Linked DNA regions of Homo sapiens: region 1 is linked to region 2. The links are contacts of gene promoters, found by promoter capture Hi-C in blood cells and fetal thymus (Javierre and others, 2016). All regions are on one chromosome and are shown on one strand. The core of a region is centred on a gene start or on the middle of the fragment in contact, and the rest is flanking DNA. Distances in the headings are between cores, read along the strand shown.

Region 1 (4,223 bases), core at 606-3,105, 2.4 Mb after region 2:
TTTTTGGATGAAGGCCAGTAACATAGAAGAGATTTTCTGGGAGAAGCCATAGACTGCTAATTACCTATGATGCTATGAGAATTTTACTCAGCTGTCTCATGCAGGGCAATAAATGGACTAAAAATTGTTGAGATTTACGCGTGGCTATTCATAGCATGACCGTCATCCATCTCTTACTCGGAATGTTCAGAAGGCATAGCCTCTCAGACATTCTTCTCGCCTGTGTCCCCACCCAGTTGGCTTAGGGAATAGCTTATGACCTCATTATCAGGAATTAGAGCACAAGAAGAGAGGCATGGTGAATGAGGGGGCTCACTCATCCACGGAAAGTGGCCATAAAAGGGATATTTTGAAATAAACAAATGAGCTATTTAGACTATTTAAACTAAGTATTGCTGATTGTATAAATCCCCAAGAGAAAATTATATAATGTCCATGTAAGTGCCTTGGAAACCATGTAAACATTATATATCTACCGTCAGCCCTCCATATCTGTGGGTTCCTCCCTGTGGATTCAACCAACCCCAAATCAAAAATATTCGAGGAAAAAATGGATGGTTGTATCTGTACTGAATATGTACAAACTTTTTTCTTATTATAATTCCCTAAGCAATACAGTATAACAACAATTTACGCAGCATTTAGATTGTATTAGGTGTTGCAAATAATTTAAAGAAGATTTAAAATATCCAGGAGGATGTACATTTGGTTAGATGCAAATATGTTTATCCCATTTCTCCATCTTTTTGACAAAAATCTAATCATGAATGTTTTAGTGTCAGCTGACGTGCAACCTATCTTAAGGATATTCACTTCTAAACTAACATGTAATTGTAGAATAAATGATGCCATGTTTTTAGAGATATTTCAAGCATTTTTCTGCAACTAGAGGTAGTGGGGAAGAAAGGAGGAACAGAATGCAACCTTTCGTGACCCAGATAATACCTCTCTCTTTCTCAGGCCAGACTTGATGGCAAAGGTCAGAATTCCTTTCCAAGAAATAAACCAGAGTCCTTTGTCTTCCTCTTCCTACAAAGATATATGTTTTTGAGTGAACATCGCTTACTTATAAAGGCTGAAATGAAAAAAATGTGTATATGTTGCCAGCCCAACTATTTACTCTGTGAAGGTGTAAAATAGCCCACTTAATATTAGGACAGAACTGTTGATGTAAATCTGAAAGAAAAATGGGAGCATGGCTTTCACAGTAAAGCCTTTTGTTAGTGCTGAGGGCTTACACAAAGGCACAGTTCCCCTTTTGCCTGGGCTGTATAATATAGGATGTAAATTACAGCAGATTCCCTGAGCAGGGATGAAATTTATGGTGAGGATTCAGAAGGCTACATTTGAGATTCATGGATATCTAAATGTGCAGGCCACCATCAGCATCTGATATAGCTCAAGCAGTATTTTTGTTTTTTCTTTTGTAGCTTACGGTCTGTGATTTTGTTTATGCCTCCTGCCAAATGTACTATTACAAGAGTAGAACATTACATGCTCAATGGCTTAAAAGGCCAAGGAGGGTGGAACATGAGCACGAGTCCCATGTAGCACCCAGTGAAAGACGTTCAGGGCATGGAACAAGCTCCTCTAACAGGAAGCGTGAGACTTCACCAGCGAGCCGAGCTGTGCTGCTCTGCGTTTGCTGCAGGTGGAGAGGTGTCTTCTTTATCAGCCGTGAAGCTGGCAGTCAAAGGAGCCATGCATTAAGTTGCTCCGAGTGGGAGAGCAGGGGCCAGGGGAGTCTGGCTCTGGGGGCTGTGATGAGGACAAGCACTCAGCTGTGGGCCAGAGGAGACTCTCCTTATTTCACAGAGGGTCTTTCAGGTTCTTTGGCATCCATCAGAGAATCCTACTGCATAGAAGTATAAGGATTTCTTAAGAAAATCATCCCACTATTTTCTCTTCTTCAAAATGGGGAGGGAATTGTGACTACCTTGAAGAGAAAGTACCTTGCCTATGGGGGACACACTTGAATGGTGAACGTGTGTGTCCCTCCAAGTCAAAAAGCTCACCTCAAAATGAGAGGTGAAGCCAGCTGCGCTTCTGGATAGGGTGGGGACTTGGAGAACTTTTGTGTCTAGCTAAAGGATTGTAAATGCACCAATTAGCACTCTGTAAAATGGACCAATCAGCACGCTGTAAAATGGACCAATCAGCAGGATGTGGGCAGGGCCAAATAAGGGAATAAAAGCTGGCCACCGGAGCCTGCAGCGGCATGCAGATTGGTCCCATTCAGCGCTGTGGAAGCTCTGTTCTTTTGCACTTCACAGTAAATTTTGGTAGATTGCTGTTTTGGTATGTGCTGCTTTTGTGAGCAGTGATACTCACCGTGAGGAGGTGCAGGATCGTTGTTGAAGTCAGCGAGTCCACGAATCCACCAGGAGCAAAAAACAACTGTGTATGTGCCACCTTTAAGAGCTGTAATACTCACTGTGAGGGTCTGTGGCTTCACTCCTGAAGTCAGCGAGACCATGAACGCAATGGGAAGAAGCTCCAGTGACATTTGAACGTCGTGAAAGAGCAGACTGTAGACAGTGTCTTTAAGAGCTGTAACACTTACTGAGAAGGTCTGTGATTTCATTCTTGAAGTCGTTGGGAGCGAGAACCCACTGGAAGGAATGAACTCCTTCCACGAAAATAGCAAAGCTGTTGAAATTAAGGAGAATAAAGCAACTTTGCCAGTTGTTTCTGAAGCTGTGATGAAGAAGGGGTCTTGGTCTTTCCTGGCCACACTGGGGACAGGGAAGCCAGGAGTGAGGTGGGAGTAAGTCTCTAGCCTTGTGCTGTTCATCGTTCACCCTTGGATAAAGAAGAGCAGGACCTTTGGAGCAGGGAGAAATCACTTATCTGCCTTAAAGAGAAGAACCTATACCCGGCTGCGTGGTGTGGCTCATGTTCGTAATCCCAGCAGGTTAGGGGGTTGAGGAAGAATTGCTTAAGGCCAGAACTTCAAGACCAGCCTGGGCAAAATAGTGAGACCCTATCCTTCCATTATAAAAATAAAGTAATAGCAAAGGGTGGGGCACATGTTTGTGTGGAGGACTGGAGGTCTGGGTTTTCACCCAGGATGTTCTCTTCTCAGGACTGTTTTTGGCAGTGCTCTCAGCTTTGGCTTGAACTCCAACAGGCCTAGAACGGGGAGCTGCTGCTTCTCTCCCTCCTCTCTCTTTGTTCAGTCAACAAGCCCCTCCTGAGCATCTGTTGTATAAACTCACTTTGCTGGGATGCATGAGAGGACTTGCAACACCATTTCACAGCAGAACGCAGGCCTCTGTGAGTTCAGTCTGTCAGTATTTTTTGAGTGTCTTCTATGTCAAAATGCCATGTGGAGATAAGCAAAAAATAGAAAAGAGACACTGCTGTGATGGTTAATTTTATGTGTTGCCTTGACTGAACTATGGGTGCCCAGATTAAACCTTGTTTCTGGATGTGTCTGTGAGGTGTTTCGAGATGAAGTCAGCATTCACACTGGGGGACTCAGTAAAGTGGATCACCGTCTCCAACATGCGGCACTGCATCCACCCTGGTGACAACCTGGGTAGAACAAAGGGAGGGAGGAGACATTTGCCTCTTTTTTTTCTGCGTCACTGCTTAAACTGCAAGATTTCATCTCATCTTTTCCTGTCCTTGAACTGGGGGTTACACCATTGGCTTCCCTGGTTCTCAGGCCTTCAGACGCTAAATTAGATACTAGCTCTACTGAGTCTCCAGTTTGCAGATGGCAGATGGTGGGGCTTCTCAGCCCTATAATCACATGAACTAATTCCTCATTATCTATTTATCCATCTATCCATCTCTATTTGTCTATCCATCTGTTCAACCATTTCTATCTATTTGTGTCTATTCATTCATCCATCCATTCATATGTGTCCATCCATCCGTCTGTCTCTAGTCATCCATCCACATCTATCTATCTATCATCTATCAATCATCTATCAATCCATCCACATATCCATATCTATCTATTTATCTATCTATCCATCCATCCATCCATCCATCCTATTGGTTGTGTCTCTGGAGAACATGACTAATACAACCACCCTTAAGGAGGTTTTGGTTTGGAGAGAGAACTTCCTTGCTGTCTGCCTGCCTGCCTACCTGCCTACCATGCTTGTTATGTTATTATTTTATGGTGTTTTTCTTTTGGCCCCTATTAACCTAGTAGCCACTGTGCTGGGCTCAGGGGGGACATCAAGCTGCCATGTCTAAGCTTGGCTCTA
Region 2 (4,258 bases), core at 345-2,844:
TAACAGATCCATATTCACATGTATTTCTGCTCCTGTCATTTTTACTAATAGATGTTTCCACCAATATGACTATTTCATGTAACTTTTCAAGTTTTATCTCCTAACTTTGTTCCTGATATTCTCTAATGATTTTTAATGTCTGTTATTAATGTAGTGATAACATATTTGAAATTACTGATCTTGGGTATTAGAGCCTTCTTCATTTTTCCTTGATAAATTTCACCAGAAATTATCTGGCTTCAATAAGCAGTTTAAGGGATTTTACTTAATTTATTTCCCTTATTTAATATTTGTTTTTCTTCATTGCTTTTCTTGCCCTTATTATTTGCTTCATTCTGCTTTCATTGCTTTTACCTACTTAATTATAATTTAATTTGTTGACTTGGGTGATTATAAATATTCAGATATGTTTCCACTTTACAGATTTAGGCAACAAAATTTCCTCAAAGAAACTTATAGAAAAAAAATCCAATAATATATAAAATGATATATCATGACAGAAGGGCTTCTTATTAGAAACAAATTGGTTAGTTAAATATTTGAAACTCATAGCTGCAAATAATCACATTAAGAGAATAAAGGGAAAAACAAAATTGTCTCAAAAAATGTATAAAACTACATAACAGAATTCAGTATGCAGTCATGATACGTACTCTCAGCAAAGTAGGAATACAAAAAAATGATTAATCTACTACATTTATCTGCAAAAATGACAAAACGCTCATACATGGAAATTAAAGACCATTCCTTTGTGGATAATATGGCACAGGATATGTTATGAAAGGCTGTCCTGCCACAACACAGCACAGATGGGGTTGAAAGAAAGGAAGGGAAACAAAGGGCTGCCATGAATTAAACCAGTAGAGAAAATAAAAGCCTGGGTCATGCAGGGGACAGTGTCTTATTAGGCCAGCATCAGGACTGGTTGAAGTCTGGCGCTTCTAACACAGTGGGAAAATGAGCATAGTAATCACAATAAAGAAAGACATCTGAAAGGTGCTAACTTAGCCTCGGATCAGAAGTGCTCTCTGCTAATGCCTTGCTGGTGAAAAGCGTATCCAGTGTAAGCCCTCAGAAATCCCAGAAAACAAAGACCAAAAGAAACGGCGCCTTGTCAACCGAACGAATTGAAAAAAGCTTCCTGCCGCGATCGGGCATTAAAAGAAAAAAACCACAGACATAAGATGGAGTGAATAAAAAAAGAATTTATATAATTCATGGATGAAATGTTTCAGAATCTATAGGATTATATTTTTTTTAAGGCAGACAGATACGAAAATACAACGAAGCGTGCATGACCGAAACCAGAAGAGATTAAAGTAAAACCTCATTCTCCTGAGGAAATCGTGTGAGAAGGGACTTAGGGACTGCCGGAACACAGCGAAGCAGAGGCAGAAGGCAGACAAAAGGGGCTGGGTTGGTCCCCGCCTGTGTGAACGAAAAAATATGTCAGATTGGAAAATTGCGGTAAAAACCAGGCAGAGCACGTACGTTGCCCCCACAGGAAGTGTCCGCCATGCTGCCTGTGCCCGGAAGTAGGTAGGAACACACAGTCAGAGGGACCCAAAAGCAGGGGGGAAGGAAAAAGAGATGCACACTTCCCCCAGAGAAGCCTCCGAGCGCGGCCGCCATTCCGGGCCTCAAGCCCATAAAGAAAAAATACCGGAGAGGTTCTGGCACCATTTCGGGGTGCCAAAGCAGCCATGGAAGAGCCTGCAGCTCCCTCAGAAGCCCACGAGGCAGCCGGGGCCCAGGCAGGTGCTGAGGCAGCAAGGGAGGGTGTGTCTGGGCCGGACCTTCCCGTCTGTGAGCCCTCCGGGGAATCTGCTGCTCCAGATTCAGCCCTGCCACATGCGGCAAGGGGCTGGGCCCCCTTCCCTGTAGCTCCAGTCCCTGCCCACCTCCGCAGAGGAGGCCTGAGGCCTGCCCCAGCCTCAGGAGGAGGAGCCTGGCCCAGTCCGTTGCCAAGCCGAAGCAGCGGCATTTGGACAAAGCAGATCATCTGCAGGTATTATATACATGGGCAGTGCAAGGAGGGGGAGAACTGTCGCTATTCGCACGACCTTTCTGGTCGGAAGATGGCCACTGAGGGTGGCGTTTCGCCGCCTGGGGCCTCTGCAGGTGGAGGCCCTAGCACGGCTGCGCACATCGAGCCCCCGACTCAGGAAGTGGCGGAAGCCCCCCCGGCTGCATCCTCCCTTTCCTTGCCTGTGATTGGCTCGGCTGCTGAAAGGGGTTTCTTTGAAGCCGAGAGAGACAATGCAGACCGTGGAGCTGCTGGAGGAGCAGGTGTAGAAAGCTGGGCGGATGCCATTGAGTTTGTTCCAGGGCAGCCCTACCGGGGCCGCTGGGTTGCATCTGCCCCCGAGGCTCCTCTACAGAGCTCAGAGACTGAGAGGAAGCAGATGGCTGTGGGCAGTGGGTTGCGGTTTTGCTATTATGCTTCCAGGGGAGTTTGCTTTCGTGGGGAGAGCTGTATGTACCTCCATGGAGACATATGCGACATGTGTGGGCTGCAGACCTTGCACCCCATGGATGCTGCCCAGAGGGAAGAACATATGAGGGCCTGCATTGAAGCACACGAGAAAGATATGGAACTCTCGTTTGCTGTGCAGCGTGGTATGGACAAGGTGTGTGGCATCTGCATGGAGGTTGTCTATGAGAAGGCCAACCCCAATGACCGCCGCTTTGGCATTCTTTCCAATTGCAACCATTCCTTCTGTATTAGGTGTATCCGCAGGTGGAGAAGTGCCAGACAGTTTGAGAACAGGATCGTCAAGTCTTGCCCACAGTGCAGGGTCACCTCTGAATTGGTCATTCCCAGTGAGTTCTGGGTGGAGGAGGAGGAAGAGAAGCAGAAACTTATTCAGCAATACAAGGAGGCAATGAGCAACAAGGCCTGCAGGTATTTTGCGGAAGGCAGGGGTAACTGCCCATTTGGAGACACATGCTTTTACAAGCATGAATACCCTGAGGGCTGGGGAGATGAGCCTCCTGGGCCAGGTGGTGGGTCATTCAGCGCATACTGGCATCAACTTGTGGAGCCTGTGCGAATGGGAGAGGGCAACATGCTCTATAAAAGCATTAAGAAGGAGCTTGTCGTGCTTCGGCTGGCCAGTCTGTTGTTTAAGCGGTTTCTTTCACTGAGAGATGAGTTACCCTTCTCTGAGGACCAGTGGGACTTGCTTCATTATGAGCTGGAAGAATATTTCAATTTGATTCTGTAGCATCGTGCTGTGGCATGTGGTCTAGTCTGCTGAGGTTCTGTCGTCTGCTATTGCCTGTTTTCCCTGTGTTGACACTCTTACTGCTTTCAGGGGCTGTTGAGGCAGTGCTTCTGTTTTCTTGTCTATTCTGCATATCTTTCCCCCTAGGATTATGGTGATTATCTGTGTTAAAAAATAAGTCCTTAAAGTTACTGTTTTGGTGAAATTAATATTAATGTCAGCTTATGGCTTTTTTTTGTCATCTCTGTTGTCAACAGGATTAACTCAGTTCTAGTGTAGTGTTTACTGAATTTCCACACTTATTTTGAAGACCCTCAAGAGTAAATGTGGCAGAGTGAAAGGAGAAGTTTTAATTGAACTAGTAGCTTTGTGCTATAATAGCCTTAACAAATGGACCCTTGCAGGGCTTTGCAGCTGCTCATCTGTTTGTTTACAGTTTGTTCTTTCCCTCCTTCCCCTTCAAGTGCACTTGTTAAACTGTGATGAACTTGTGATTTTGTGTTTTACTTGACCAAAACCAAGTGTATATGTTTACATGTTTTTATCCTGTTTAGCTTGACATGAAATAATTTATATTTGGAAATATATATTTAAGAATTATATATATAAAAATATATATGTATAAGAGTTATGTATTTGAAAAAAATATATAAAAGAATATACATCACAATATAATATTTATGTTTATGTAATAAAGTAAATACAGAGCTGAAAGCTGAAGGTCAAAGCCTAACAGGATTGGCTGTTGTGTGGATGTGAGTTGTGTGAATAATCTTTCTGTCCCTCGCACAGAAGCCAGTAATTAGCATCTAATGAAAAGGACTGTTCAAGTGGGTCTGGCCAAATGTGACAGATGCAGATCTTAGAGGACTTACAAAGCACTATATTGGTAATTCTTACAATGGCATTAATAGCTTACTCTATAAATACAGAAATGGTTTTCCTATGCAGTTTAGCCACCTTCTCATTAATTCTTTGTAACAGCAAATCCTAGGCTCAGAGGCACAGTGCTTTGTATTTGATATACAAAG

Evidence for each region. Contacts are between HindIII fragments. The CHiCAGO score rates a contact against its expected background, and 5 or more counts as called.
Region 1: a contact is called between a fragment that was not itself captured here and the fragment with the promoter of MKRN3 in region 2, in 1 of 17 cell types (M0 macrophages). The highest score is 5.4, in M0 macrophages.

What each region holds. Positions count from the first base shown.
Region 1 is chr15:25,971,084-25,975,306 of GRCh38, forward strand. All of the region lies in intron 1 of LINC02346 (long intergenic non-protein coding RNA 2346), which reads left to right. Among named protein-coding and RNA genes, the nearest start is that of LINC02346, 71 kb to the left of the region's middle. The HindIII fragment of the contact is 4,712 bases long and covers 1-4,211 here.
Region 2 is chr15:23,564,080-23,568,337 of GRCh38, forward strand. MKRN3 (makorin ring finger protein 3) reads left to right here and starts at 1,595. Exons shown (of 1, transcript NM_005664.4): 1 at 1,595-3,965. The coding sequence starts at 1,704. The coding sequence ends at 3,227. The HindIII fragment of the contact is 4,614 bases long and covers 1,136-4,258 here.